Linked DNA regions of Homo sapiens: region 2 is linked to region 1. The links are contacts of gene promoters, found by promoter capture Hi-C in human tissues and cell types (Jung and others, 2019). All regions are on one chromosome and are shown on one strand. The core of a region is centred on a gene start or on the middle of the fragment in contact, and the rest is flanking DNA. Distances in the headings are between cores, read along the strand shown.

Region 1 (7,948 bases), core at 3,138-5,637:
CAAAGTGGGGACTGAAGAAAATCAAACTTTCCAAAATCAAATTCTAAATTCAGTCTTGTTGACCTCATTATCTTTTTTGATATTAAGTCCCCTGAAGCCAAAAACAGACATATTCGGTGTATTTGGCATGTTAAAATCATATAGGAAACATTGTCAAATATGAAATGGTGTTCAACTTTATTTGTTCTACATTTATATTAAACCTGTTACTAGTATGTTTTTCAACATTGCGTGATATTCCTATCATTCTGATGTCTTTATATATGTTATTAGTATTTATAATTATTATGTTAAATTGTTATATGCCACAGAAATAACCAAATTTCCTTGTTAAGTGTGTCCTTGACCATGGCTGTCCTAAGACTTCTGTCATTGACAGTTGTTCTACTTTGGTGCTTTTAAAAAGGTGGTTTGCAATTAGCTATAGGACTCTAAGGGGTGCTTTTGAATGAAGCTTTATGATAACTTTGGAGATTGTGCCACTGGTATAGAGAAAAAAAACTCCCAGGACTCTCATGGAGAACTAATATGTTCATGAAGATTGCTCACCCAATATCTAACAGAATAGGAGTTAATTGCATGGACTGAAATAATAGAAGACTGAAATAATCTTTTTATGGGTTTTGTTGAAACATTGCCACTTTTGTTTTTCAGAGTCAAAATTTTTTTCTTTTTAGACATTTACAGCTTTTAATATTTGTGTAAAGTATACTCTTGTGAGCAAAATTTGAAGCATATTTCCCTCTATCTGCCTGATTTCTCTGAAATTTGGAAACTCTTAGTGATTATTGCTAATTTATGGGAATATAATTATTTGCATAAATTCAGTTAGAATCTGTTTTGTTTTGTAACAGGCCACAAGTGGAGACAAAAATCAAGGATTTGACTGGAATGCCCTATTTTTAAGAAATTGATATTGGGACTTTATAAAGCTGATAATAGCCCTGTGGATAAAACTGGCCTCACAGCTTGTCTATGCAGTTCCTTTACAGGTTCCTTTACAGGTTTCTGGCCTGTAATGGGTAAAAGAAGGTCACATTCTGACAGGCCCAGGAACCCCAACTTATTTTGGGACCTTGAGAGAGAATTCACTTAATTCATACAGGTATCTCGTAGAAACAGATAAATCCTTGGTTGGGCTCAGGATGCTTTTAAGAGGTCTAATATGAGATTCTTTACAAAAAAGAATGTTCCAGCAAAGCCATTTTTTAAAAAGGAGCCTATATAGTAAATAATTATTCTTGCTGCCCTTTATGCAAAAAATCAGACCAAGTATAGTAACAAAACTTATTTTGCAAATAAATCAGTTCTACTGTGTGTCAGGCCTCTGAGCCTAAGCTAAGCCATCATATCCCGTGACCTGCATGTACACATCCAGATGGCCGGTTCCTGCCTTACTGATGACATTCCACCACAAAAGATGGGAAAATGGCCTGTTCCTGCCTTAACTGATGACACTGTCTTGTGAAATTCCTTCTCCTGGCTCATCCTGGCTCAATAGCTCCCCTACTGAGCACCTTGTGACCCCCACTCTGCCTGCCAGAGAACAACCCCCCTTTGACTGTACTTTTCTTTTATCTATCCAAATCCTATAAAATGGCCCCACCCTTATCTCCCTTCACTGACTCTCTTTTAGGACTCAGCCCGCCTGCACCCAGGTGAAATAAACAGCCATGTTGCTCACACAGAGTCTGTTTGGTGGTCTCTTCACACGGATGTGCATGAAACTATGTCTTTCATAAAATTGAAGAACTGGAAGCAGAAATACTATGTTTCAAAAACTATAGTGTATCTGTTAGTATCTTCTAGCCTTGCCCATTGTTTTTTCAGTTTTTATTATTTTTTACAAGTTAGACCAAATCCTGAATTTTTTTCTGGCTACAAGTCTGCAAAGTAACATTTTCAACGTTTTCTCCCATTTTTCTTACTTGAATTCACTAGAAATTAAAACTGGGGTTTTCTTAAAGTCTTGCAAACTGAAGGTATCAGGAGAAAATAACAGTAACTTATAAACAACCTTCATGCATATCTGCTGATGTGAGGCCTTCTCAGAAAGTTCAGTGGAACACCTGGTTTGAACTTCCAGGGAAATCTGGGACATTGCCACTGCAATATGAAGACGCCTCAGAGAAAAAGCTATAGACTAGCTTTTCTAGATATATAGACTACTCCAGATAGTAACATTTATTTATTTATTTTTTTCTGTTTCTACAGAAATGCCTCCTACTAGAAATCTGATTGCCTACATTACGTCTAAAGGCCTAAACCATTTGCAGTCCCACCTCCTGGAATGGGACGTAGATATTTAACTGAACTGATCTCACCTCAAAACCAAGGGACTGCCTAAAGAAAATATGGAATGATATATTTAAATTTGCTCATTTATATTTATCCCAAATGTGTTTTTCCACTGCTATGACTGTCTCTATCTAAACACCTCTAACTTAAATCTCCCCAAAGCTATTACCTTGGCTTTTAGTATGTGAAACTTGTTTTAAATTTCAAAGTGGGGACTGAAGAAAATCAAAATATTTTACCCTCAAATATATTTCTTTGACATATTTAAAAATGGTTTCCACTGGCCAACAAGCAGAAGTGGCATTGCAAAACTGTCTTAACTGAGGAAAATTTGCGTCTGTGGACAATGTCCATTAATGCAGCCATACCCTCTCCTGTTTCTAAGCCTTTCCCAGGATCCAGAGCGATTGAGAGTCTGACACCTTTAAAGATCTGGATAGAAACATTTACCATCTTTTGCTTCTGAGAAAAGGTTCGTCTACATAACAAGGCCACCTTTGCTAGCCGAGCTTCTTCCTTCCTCTCTCTCTTAACCTGTGTTGCCACTAAAACTAATTTACCTGTTTCTGGCCATGCTTTGAGTCTCCACTCTTTACTGTGGCCTCGGAATAATACATGAGTTTCTGTAACTTACTGGGAAGTTGGGTCTTCATTCTCAAGTTTCCCAAGTGTGGTGGTTAATATTGAGTGTCAACTTGATTGGATTGAAGGATTCAAAGTATTGTTCCTGGGTGTGTCTGTGAGGGTGTTGCCAAAGGAAATTAACATTTGAATCAGTGGACTGAGAAAGGGAGGCCCACCCTCAATCCGGGTGGGCACCATCTAATCAGCTGCCAGCACAGCCAGAATGAAAGTAGGCAGAAGAATGTGGAAAGACTAGACTGGCTTAGTCTCCCAGCCTACATCTTTCTCCTGTGCTGGATGCTTCCTGCCCTCAAACATCAAACTCCAAGTTCTTCAGCCTTTGGACTCCTGGACCTTTGACCACAGACTGAAGGCTGCACTGTCGGCTTCCCTACTTTTGAGGTTTTGGGACTCGGACTGGCTTCCTTGCTCCTCAGCTTGCAGACGGCCTACTGTGGGACGTCACCTTGTGATCATGTGACTCACTACTCCTTAATAAACTCCCCTTTATGTATACATCTATCCTATTAGTTCTGGCCCTCTAAAGGGTCCTGGCTAATAGACCATGTATATACATTAAATAAATTTGTACTCCCTTTCCCCTATTAATCAACCTGTCACATGACAGTGACTTTTAGTGAAGCTTTAGGGGGCCAACAGCCTATGGCCCCCACATAAGGTATACATTGGCTCTGCCTGAAAATCAGACATATTGAAGTAGGAGAGCTTACAGGACAAAGGTGGATTCAAAGATTTTGTGATTGGCAATTTGTTGAAGAGTTAAGTTTTGTCTAAAGACTTGCGGTCAGTACAATTAAATGCTTGAGTTAAAAGGGCTTATGGGAACCATGGTTTATGTCATGTAGATGAAACCTCCAGCTAGCAGCCTTAGAGAAAACAGATGGTAAATATCTCTTTTCAGATTTTTAAGGTGTCAGACTCTCATTTATTCTCTCCTCAATCAGAGCAGAGCCAGAAACCAGCAAATTTCCCCATAAAAGATGGTTTTGCAAGACCATTTCAATATGTGTCAAAGAAATATATTTTGGGGATTAAATATATTGATTTCCTTCAGGGTCTGCTATTGTCATGTGATGCTAAACCAGAGTCAGATTGGAATTTGGTATCTTATTCCCACAAACAGTCCATTTTGACAGTCTTATGATCACTGTTTCAATGTTAATGCTGGTCAGTTGTGCCTGAACTCCAAAAGGGAGTGTGTATAATGAGGCGTGTCTGACCTCCCTTTCCATTATGGCCTGGAATTTAGTTTTCCAGGTTTCTCTGGGGTCGCCTAGGACAAGAGGGGATCCATTCAGTCAGTAGGGGGACTTGATTTTATTTTTAATTTATACCCCACTTTCAAAGTACACTGCAAATTACTTACAAAGTTCTACTTACTTTGGCCAGCAACCAGGAACTAGGCTGAATGCAATCCTCTTGCTTCCAAGGTCTGTAATAAAGTGCTCTCCCTTCCAAAGTCTGCAAGGGAAGTGATCTCACTGGAATTCCGTATCACCCTGACACCAGAGTCTAGTTAGGATCACCTCAGGGATCTCTGGGAAATGTAGTTGCAGGGCCTCAGGTTGCCTCTGTGAATCTCTTACGCAAATCTTTTTGTTAAAAATGGTGTGGATAATTATATTATCTGATGATACCCATGCCACAGGCTAGGAGAGCTGTGCCCTTGTATTTCACCTAGTTCTTGCTCTCTGGAAGTCTGATGCCAGACTTCCCATGTGTGATATAGAAGGTGAGAGCTTGAAACAGGTCAAGGAACAGCAGAACCAATAACTTAGAAGCGGCAGAAGAGGAAGATGAAAGGTTTTAGTCATACTCTCAGTTTATGGCACACTTTCATCACTTCCTATAAGGCCTCTCTTTTTCTTCTGCCTCTTTTCATCTCTCATCCTCACTCTCATTCACTTCTCTACCCAAAGGTAACACACAATGTGTCTGAAATAACTCTATGCATGTGGTATAAGTGTCACATGTATCATATGGCTTTGTTTCTGCTTTTTTGACATTAACATTAATGTAAATTTTTATTTCTCCTAGCCTGTGGCATGGGTATCATCAGATAATATAATTATCCACACCATATTTAATGAAAAGATTTGTGTAAATTTTTATTTACATTAATATTAATATAAAATATAAACATTGTATATAATGTTTTTTGACACATAACAATTGTATATATTTATTTGGTAGTGTGTGATGTTCTGATACATGCAGACATTGTGTAAAGATCAAATCATGGTAATTAGCATGTCTGTCACCTCAAACATTTATCATCTCTTTGTCATGAGAACATTCAAAATCCTTCCTTCTAGCTTTTTTTCTAGCTTCCATACCCTCTTTTCTCTCCAGTAACAACTCTTAACTTTCTACTACTCTAACTATTCTACTCTTAACTTCTATGAGCTAAATTACTTTTAGATTCCACATATGAGTGAGATGTGCAGTTTTCATGATGTAATTGTTGCCTTTAGCACCTACTGTTCCAGTACATACCTCTGGCATGCTGCCACATGAACTCGGGACTCTGTGGGAAGGCTTTCTTTTGGCCTGTGCTTGGGCAGATGGACTACAAATTAAAGCACCTGGGACCACCACTCAGCCCACATGATGGGAACTGGAGACTAAATATCCTTGTGTTCTACATGCTAAGGTGGGATTACTCTTAGGCATGTACAAAACTGCCTCCTGGTGTTGTCTACTGGGATTATGCTCCCTTTCTTTGCAGGCAGCCTGCCAACAATGCACCTTTTTATTGATCTCAAGGTGTCTTGGGTTCACTGTTATACTCCCGCACTGGTGATTCCTTAAATCATCTCCTAAATCAAAATAAGCCACTGGAATACAAATCTTTGTCTTGTGGCCTGGTTTTAGAGAAACCCAACCTAAGTCTCTTTAACTTACCAGTTCCACTTGTGAAGGACATTTGATTGCCTCCTACTCCTGGTTATTATAAACACTGATGTGATGAATGCGTTTCTAGACATCCTCTGCAGATTAGCAGAACTCGCTGGGATATATGTATTAGGAATGGGATCTGCGGAGGGGCAGATCATAGATGTACTTTTTCTTTTGGCACTGCCAGATTTCTGTCCTCTTGTATAGAAGAATTCCTACTTTCCTCATATCCTGATTGACATTTGGTGTTAGCCACCTTCAAATGTTTGACAGTTTTGTGTATCTAAGATGATAGCTCAGTGTTCTTTTCATTTTCACTTCTCTGATTCCCAGTGAATACGGGTGAATAGGTTCTTCACATACCTATTGACCCTTCACATTTCCATTTGTGAATTAAATGGCAAGGTTTTAAGAAAGAATTCCTTCTGCCAAATTAGTCGGGACACACAGGCGAAGAGAGATGGATTAAAATTCAGATCTTGCTAGAAAATCTTTGGCCAAGGTGGGGTGAGAGAGAAGCAGAGGAAATAATTCCAGCATGTAGGACTGTGATCTGGACCATTTTTGACTGAGTGTGGGAGAGGAATTGTCAATGGATTATGGTCATTTTTCTCCTTGATTGTTGGAAACCTGACACCTGGAATTAAAATGTTGCAATCCAGATTGGCACATGTGTAATTCTGAGATTGCCTCTAATTATTGTCAGTTTGACAGAGATCCTTGAGGATGTCCAGCAAGAACCGTCATGGGAAACTATGAGATGAGGAGACTTGTGACTAAGGGAGAGTAAGACCAGAGTCAAGGATCCTGGTGTCCAAGGGAAGAAACACCTGAGGCTGGGAGTGTGAGATGTCAGAGAGCTTGAGAATACCCTACAGCCTCCCACAGGGTGGTCATCAAGACCTTCAAACCAAAATTTGACTTCATCAAAGTTTTTTATGTGGAAGAAGAGCAGAATTGGGGAATACCTGAGCTGTCACTGAGTACTTCCTCACCATACAAGTAAGAGATACAGAGATGGGCTGGGCAACAACAGTGATACCATAAAGAAAAGCTCCTTCTTCACTGTGACTTATACACGTAGAAAGCATGTTGTTTGTGTCTTTAAAGAAAAGCATTAGAGTTAGTTATGTCTAGTTTACAGATTCTCACATGTGCTAACTCACTTTTATGTCAAGATTCTAAAGTTTGATAATTGACTGTTTCCTTGCTAACAACAAAACTTATATTTTTGCAGAGAAAGAAATAAATGTTCTTCCTTTCCTGATCTTCTCTGAAGAAGGGTTCTATATCCAAGCTAATTTTTTTTTTTTTTTTTTTTTTGCTTATTATCTACTTTAACATTTAGCATAACTTCTGGTTTTCACTTCAACAAGTAAAGTTTGGGATAATCCCTCCCATCTTCTCATCAATGAGAAAACTAAACAAACTGAAAATAAATCTTCTCAGATCCATGACAGAATTGAAGTCACAGCAAAGTGCTGTCCTGAAAAGAGACAGACAGTTAAAGACAGATAATCACAATTTATTCTCAATTCTAGAAACTAAAGCCCAGGTTCAGAGGACCACAGATGAAGCCAGTATTTTTAGCAACATACAAACATGTAATAATTCATGAATTGTTGAGACTCAGTGTAGACAAACTTGACAGTTTAAAACTCTTGGGTGCTCAGTCTCAGAAGGTCTTCACACTTTTGTGTTTTACCTCCAGGATGCCCACCAAGTTCTCACTGTGAATACTGGAGAATAGTCTCTTCATGCTCCTGGCAGAAGGTGGAGAAAAATAACCATTGTGATATAAGTCCAGAGCATTCTGGTCCTCCTTCCCTTAAGGGAAATTACAAGGGCCTAACTGAAGTGAGGTAAGAGAAACATTCAACTCCAACCCTTCTAGCATTCCTGTCTCAGACCTAAGTGGAGGGGAGGGGGGAATGGATGCTGAGAAGCACTTTCGAAAGTCACGTCCCAGGGCAAACGCTCACTAGAAGATAGCGACCTCATCAAAGGCCTGTACAATGGTTCTCTTTCCCCCATACATTAAAACCACTGCGACTGCAGGAGGAAATACAGGAGGCCCGGGGCCAGGACAATGCTAAGGAGCTGAGGC
Region 2 (7,948 bases), core at 4,026-6,525, 290 kb before region 1:
GAAGGTGAAGCACCAGTTTCCAGCCTTCCGCTTAATTAGTTTGCTTCATTAAATGTCTCCTGCTATTTTGATTTGTTATGGAAGTCACCTTCACTTTCTGCTAAAGCTTTTGTGGAAAGTTATTTTGTACCTTTAAACAGCTGCTTCTCTCCAGGAAGCCTGCTTTTATTTTATAGCAAGCCGGCTCGGCTGTCTCTGTACAGGCTGGCTCATGTCTATAAATGGTCAAGGCCTCAGAGCCAGATGGGGCAGGACAGGGTCATCCAACACGTCTTTGAAGTGATTATTTCATATTGAATCTAGTTGTGAACCCCATATGTACCTAACACCATGATTGTGGGTGATAAGAAATAATGTAGGATGAAGAAAATAAGACTTGTTCAGAAAACAATTGGAAAACTATGTTGTTTCAATGTTAGGATGTGATACATTGCAGGGGTATTATTCACTGCATCATTATTGTAGCAAAAGATTGCAGACTAAATGTTCAATAATAAGACCCTGTTACAATATGATACATTCACATGCTCGAATACTATGCTGCTATTAACAAGAGTAAGGCGGCTTTGTATGTGATAATGTAACAGGATTTTGATAAGGGTTAAAAGAGCAAGAAATATTAAGAAGGCCAGGCACAGTGGCTCACGCCCATAATCCCAGCACTTTGAGAGGCCGAGGCAGGAGTATCGCTTGAGACCAGGAGTTTGAGACTAGCCTGGACAGCATAGCAAGACCCTATTTCTACCAAAACAAACAAACAAACAAACAGCCTGACGTGATCGTGCCAGGTGCATGCCTGTAGTCCTAGCTACTCAGGAGGCTCAGGCATGAGGATCACTTGAGTCCAGGATCTTTGCTCATAGCTGCAGTGAGCTATTATGGCATCACTGCACTCCAGCCTGAGCGACAGAACAGGACCCTATCTCTAAAATATAAATAAAAATAGCAAAAATAGACCAAGCGTAGTGGCTCACATCTGTAATCCCAGCACTTTGGGAGGCAGAGGAGGGTGGATTACCTGAGGTTAGGAGTTCAAGACCAGCCTGGCCAACATGGCGAAACCCCATCTTTACTAAAAAATACAAAAATTACCCAGGCATGGTGGCAGGTGCCTGTAATCCCAGCTACTCCAGAGGCTGACGCAGGGAGAATTACTTGAACCCGGGAGGCGGAGGTTACAGTCAGCCAAGATCATGCCACTGTACTCCAGCCTGGGCGATGGAGCAAGACTCCATCTTAAAAAAAAATAGCAAAAATATATATCATGCTTCCATTTATAGTCCATGAGAAGAAAAGGGATGGGCAAGCGCACACACACAAACCCAAACACACACACGCACGTGGACACACACACGTGGATGGCTTATTATCTCTGGAAGGATGCATAGGAAACTGGGAACAGTTCTTGTTTCGGGCAGAGGGACTGAACAGGAAAATGGTACGGGAAGGAAACAAATTTCACTTCATACTTTTTTGTATAGTTAGGGGGGAAATCATTTCGTATTTATTGTATTCATTTTTTCAGAAAAAAAAAAAACTGCTAAATTTTCTTTTTTTGAGACAGGATCTCACTGTGTCTCCCAAGCTGGAGTGCAGTTGTATGATCACAGCTCACTGCAACCTCAACCTCCTGGGCTCAGGTGATCCTCCCACCCCAGCCTCTCAAGTAGTCAGGACCACAGGTGCTCATCATCATGCCCGGCTAATTTTTTGTATTATTTGTAGAGATGGGTTTTTCACTGTTTTGCCCAGGTTGGTCTTGAACTCTTGGACTCATGTGATCCGCCCGCCTTGGCCTCCCAAAGTGCTGGGATTACAGGAGTGAGCCACTGCACCCATCCTGAATTTTCTTTAAAAGAAAGTTGAATGACGTGAGAGCCGATAGAGAAGGGAAACTTGTATATTTAAAGTAGTTCCTTTATTTGACAGCTGGTCATTGAGCTCCGGCTCTTCACCAGGTTCTGTTTTGGCCTCTGAGATGCAGGTAATTTCAAACAGCTATGAGTGCCCTGAAGTCACAGAAGTAGGGGTTTTGGTGGCAAATGAATGACTAGGGTGGAGCTGGGCTGCTGTTTAAGGAAGGATGGTCACAGAAGGTCCTTTTGGAAAAAGATACTGAGCTGACTGCTGAATGAGGAGAAGCCAGCTTAGTAGTGAATCAGGATGGGGCAACAGAGTTCCAGACAGGATGACAGCAGATGGAGGGTCATTCGGGAAAGCTTCAGAAAGGAGGCAAGCTTGCCTTCCATGCATGGGCTGAGTGGAAGCTAAAGTGCCACGCACTCACCTGGAATGAAGAGTCAGGCCTGACTGACAAAGATAAGAAGAGTGAGAAGCGGTTGGGATTAAGTTTAGGTCAGTAGGATGAGGCCTGAGCATCAAGGGCCCCTGGATGCTGAGGTCTGTACAGCTTTTTCAGGTACCTCTTGAGACATACTCAGATATGTCGCAGGGATCATCTGCTGTGAGACTGCTAGCAGCATTGTAGGAGTTCTCTTCACTCTGTCCACGTAGAAATACGTGTTCTGCAACAGAGAGTAAAAGGCAGGAGCAGAAGAAAACTTTCTCTCCCTGACTTGCAGAAAAGCTCATGGCAGGTTTAAAAAGGACAGGGCAATGCAGACAGCTATAGTGTGAGGGACACAGCGTGGTTCCTGGTATACTTCATGCGAGAATCTGCATGCTGGCTCTGTGATAGCGTCCTCATCAGGAAAGTGGGGATTGCAATATTACCTCAACCCACTTCGCAGAATTGTCATGTTGAGAGTGAAAACAAGAGAACAAGTGGCTTCTGTAAGGTATTAGGTGTTAAACAGATCGATGAAAGTGGTTATTAGTGGAGACAGTACAGGAGTAACGTCAATTGGGCAGTCTTTGGGTAAAGATGGCGTCCTTCTGCTAAACCTCCCAGAAATGACATGTATCAGATTCCATTTCTGTACATCCTACCATATGGTTTTAGTTTTTGTTGTTGTTGTTGTTGTTTGTTTGTTTGTTTTTTAATCTAACCATTTTGGTGGAGAAAAGAAAGTTCATCAGGAGATAGTTTATAACTCCTCATTATGATGACTGACAAATATCCAAAGGGCATGTTTCTTTTAAGCCCGTGCACTGTCTTTATCCCCACACAGAGGCAGGCGCTCATGTCTTTTACACGGGACATTTTGAATTTTTATCTTTATTATGGTATTAGTTTCTTACTGGGTTCCACCTCAAGCTTACTTTTGTTAACTGGAGATCTTTACCTGTAGACTCGTCGTCTGCTTAAGTTAGAACTAAGTCTATTCCAAATGATCGATTTTATTTTACTGCTATAGTACACCACTTTTTATGTCTTTGGAATATGCTTTGTAAAATAGTAACTTTACAGAATTTTTCTTAATTCTGAGAAACAGTTATTTGGTAGCTTCAGTTTCCTAAGAAGAGAGGAAAATGTACCTCAAAGGACAGGAGAGTCCCCAAGATCTTCCAAAACCTATTCCAAAAATAATCTATTATTATTTTAGATGGTAACATTTTACCAATATTAATGTCTTCGTCTTCTTTATAGCACAATAGAAGCACTAAGTGCTTTAAAAATAGGAGATGAAAAGTTAAAAAAAAAAAATGTAAAGGATATAGGAAGAAAGCCCCTGTCATGAGGATGCAACAAAACCCAAGGGTCAAACATCACCCTCTGCTGGGCCTGTTGACAGTAGAGGGAAACAGTTACCTGACATTAAAACATAACTTTAGTAATTAAAGTTTAAGAATTACTTTAAACCATTTTTTAAAAAATTAATTATCTCAAATAATGCTCAAGAACACCAGTGCGTTGCAAAATTTGAACATTGGTACATTGTAAAAAAAAGTGTATACATTCTTGAGTTGTAAAGGAAAAGTTTAAATCTGAGGGGTGGGATGGATTGAGGCTGACGTTTTTCCCAGAGTGGTCTTTGTAAACAATGTTTAAGTTTTGTTATTTATATTAACACGAAAGCCTCCTTTATCTGGAGAACACGCTTATGTGGCTGAGCCTCTGTCCCTGGGATGCCAGATAGTGAGACATCGCAATCCTGAGTAGTATGCTCAAAACTCACTTCATATGTTAGGAGCTAAAATGGTCTTGTTTTCTAGTAATCTCCAGTTTGTGATTCGTACTCAGAGGCTTGCACATTGCTGTGTACACTGACAGAACATTGATGGCTTTTGGAAAAGCTGCTTGCTGCTTGTTGCCCGGAGTTAGCTTTATTGCTCTCACTCTGTGCCATATTGAAAGTTAACCTGTGCTAACCCCCCAGTCATTTTCTCAGTCTCCTAGAGAGGTAACAGAACATCTTTATTCTGGATTTGCCGTACACACTGACATAATTCCTCTTGAAATATCTGGCTGTCGTAGTCTAAGGTCATAAGAAACATTTAATTCTTCAGAATGGCAACATAATTTGAATTGCTGTCAAACAGTGTGTGGCCTGAAACGGGAAAGAAAGGAAAATTATTGATCATTGAGATGCCTTTGTGTCTCGCATCGTTTCACTAGCCTGTAATTAATTGAGCCTTTTGACGTCCATCCATATTTTTTTTCTTCCTTGTGGAAATTCAGCTACGTTCCCACCCCACATGGTGCCTTGGAGATTACTTGAGACTTTTATTTGTGGTATCTCTATTTGGTTGTTGACATTAATGAGCTTACTTCACAAATATCACAAGAGAAATAGTGTTGCTTTTTGGAATGTTAATGAATTGCTTGCCTGGCCAATTGCCATTCGTTCCAGTGTGTGAATATGATGGGGTGTGTGTGTGTGTGTGTGTGTGTGTGTGTGTGTGTGTGTGTGTGTGGAAAAGAGAGACGAGTAGCAGGGGTGGATTGCATTTTTTTCCTCTTTGCAGCCAGTGACGTGAGCTGTGCCTGGAACAATCAGACTCGCTGCAAACAGGGTAGTTGAAGATGCTGGGGGAGGCAGCCTGGTGCTTCTTAAGCTAACGCGGATCACGGCGCTCAGGAGCTGCTCAGGCACAACCCCGCAGAGTTCCTCCAGCGTGAGAGCCTTGGAACGGTTGGAAAGTGCCTTTTTATTTCTCTAAACCCCTTCCTTAGTTGACCTTCGAAAATGATTGGCGTGAATAGTGTCCAGAGTGCCAGCAAGGTACGGGTGAGGACCTCAGGTTCCGTGAAATACTCCCGGGAGGATTCTATCCGGCGGCAGTCTCACAGGTCAAAGTCCATGAAAATTTCCAACTCCTCAGAGTTTTCTGCTAAGGAGAACAAGGTAAAGAAATACCACATTGAACCTTATTGACAGCTGTGTGGCAGGGCAACAGAATTGGATAGTCTTTGGCAGTGTCTAATGTGCAGTGATAGACTGAGAAAGTAACGAGGAGTATAAAATGGTTCTAAGAGAATCAGGTGCGATCAGGTGAAACGGATGGGACCTGAACTCCAGATACAAAGATGCTGTGGCATGGGTCAGTTTTGTAAAGAGCCAGTTTGTGGAAGAGATGGGCGAAAGCCGTGCTCAAAATGAGATGACTGTGGGAAACTGTTGTTTGGCACATCGATCTTGTTTTTGGTCTCAGAAAGGTTGCCTTGACAAATGATTTTTCAGTGCGGAGTATTTTTAGAACATCAGGAATACAGAGATATTGTGTATGATTTTATCTTTCAGTTAGTTCCTTTTTCCTTTCCTCCCCTGGTCTTCCCCCAGCCCCCAGTCTGTGGAGCTGATGTACAAGTATGACCTGGTCCTATTATACTACATTCATGTCAGGTTTAGAGTGGTTAGCCCCAGGCATATGTAATGAAGAGAAATTTCTTCTTTCATGTTCCTTACACATATATGTGCTGATGCTATGCTGCCATGAAACCACTCGTGTTTTTGCAGCTGTCTTGAAGATAATATAATCTTTGTTCGTGTGAAATGTGAAGGGAGTGATTACGTAGTGAAGTGGGCATTTACTACATGCAACATATTCTTGAGATTCTTCCCACCACCATCTGTGTGAGCAGGGTACTCAGAAACACTCCCACTCCACAGGTTTAAAAATGGAATAATAGAATCATAGGATCACAGAACTCCAGGTCTGGAGATGGAGATGATTATAACGGAGATTCATGGGCTTGATAATGTGCAGAGAGAGCGTCAGGAGGTGGATCTCAGTGTCATTTCAGCCTTCTCGGGGTTATATCCAGACCCACTGAGAGTGACATCAGGCTTTCTTCACCCTCCCACCACTCCCCACTGCCCTCCTCCTCTGCTACCTCCCCATCCCTGTGTGACATAACATTATTGAAAGACTTTGGCATTAACAGGTTCCCCTCAAAATATGGCAGGGGACAGGTGGCAAAATACCTTAGTGTGACTTTAAGAAATATGTTGGCTTCCTATTCACCCCCTTACATTATGACATAGTGGAGTCTGACCCCCTCCGTCATTAGCAAATTGCCTGGCTCCAGTAAGTCTTCAAATCTGGCTTTTTACTCCTCACTGTTTTTTTAAAAAGCTTTATCTTTAGAGAGAAACGTGTCTTCAAAGTCCTTTAATGTGACCTGTATAGGGATGTGTTGGCTTCTACTGAAAGTGTTATGAGACCACCTGTGGTGTCAGGACTGCGGTCTCCTGCTGAAATAGACCAGAATGGTTTATCATATTCTTAAATAAATGTATGTGAGCATGTATGTAATTCTCAACATGGCTATAAAATTGGCTTCTATAAGAGCACTAAGAGACGTCTCTGGATTTTGTTTTGGATGTTTTAATGTGGAGTATACCCATGGTATGCAGTCAGAGGCTATGGGAAATTAAGAGCTCATCATCCTTAACTCTGTTGTAGTCCTACTACCTATCCTCATGATAATTTAGGCATTGTAATATTAGTGGGTTCACCCAGAATTATGGTTGTGTAGTGTAATGTTGGAATCCAGCATAGATACCACATGAAAAGATTCTCTACTGTCCTCTGTGTTTGTCACACAGTACAGGTACTTTTACTTGATATGTATCTGTGGAAGAGAAGGCCAAGCACTTTTTTTTTTTTTTTTTGAATATTGCAAACGCCGCAGGAGTTAACAGTATAAAAGGCCACTGGTAGAACTGTAGTCAGTAGGCCATCACATGATACCTTAAAGATTATAGTCGGTTTTTAAGAGATGATTAGTATTTTTTTGAGGCATATGTGGTCCCTAAGTTACAGAATATGTGTTCAAGGATATAGCCAAGCTCCCAATATCTCACAAGAGATATTTTTAGGATTATCTAGTGGCTTAAAATTGAACACCAGAGCTAAGAGAAAATCAGTAGAATAGAATATTCTATCAGAGTGACCCTAATCATTGACTAGCCATTTATATTCCCTAAATGAAATAAACTGAATAATATGACAGGCTTGTACCCTAAATTACTGAACTTAATTATACTATAATAGACATGTGTAAAATGTTGATTTAAGCATCACTTCTCCCATTTTTATCCACAGTTACACGTTTTCCTCCAATTTTAATCAGAATTTTCATTGATCTTACTTGTATCTAGTAGTATTTTTTAGCCCTTAAATCAGTGTTTCTTCTTCCTCCTCTTCTTTTTTTTTTTTTTTTTTTTTTGAAACAGAAACAATGTCTCAGTATGTTGCCCAGGTTGGTCTCCAACTCCTGGGCTCAAGCAGTCCTTCCACCTCTGCCTCCCAAAGTATTGGGATGATAGGCACGAGCTACTGCACCCAGCTGGTATTTCTTCTTGCTAATCATGTAAACAGCATTTTTGATTATCTGACTCTTTCATCCAAAATGCAGGATGTCTAATTTGATGATTAGAAGATCCCCATTGCCACCTCTCTCCACCCTCTCATGTCATCTTCCCAACCTGTAAAAAATAAGATACCATTAACTCGTGGTTCGCTCCTGGGATTTAATGTTATCTTTCTAGAACTCTGGCTCTTTCTAGAATAGGTGTAATAATTGCTTCTCCTTGTCAGA

The links. Contacts are between HindIII fragments. The study calls those that stand out against the background at their distance.
Region 2: a fragment that was not itself captured here is called in contact with the fragment with the promoter of NAT2 in region 1 in 1 of the 25 tissues and cell types used here (H1 embryonic stem cells).

What each region holds. Positions count from the first base shown.
Region 1 is chr8:18,387,721-18,395,668 of GRCh38, reverse strand. It overlaps NAT2 (N-acetyltransferase 2), which reads right to left and starts at 4,387. Exons shown (of 2, transcript NM_000015.3): 1 at 4,324-4,387. The HindIII fragment of the contact is 11,595 bases long and covers 2,011-7,948 here.
Region 2 is chr8:18,681,075-18,689,022 of GRCh38, reverse strand. The region is part of intron 9 of PSD3 (pleckstrin and Sec7 domain containing 3); the gene reads left to right. Among named protein-coding and RNA genes, the nearest start is that of PSD3-AS1, 36 kb to the left of the region's middle. The HindIII fragment of the contact is 5,096 bases long and covers 2,728-7,823 here.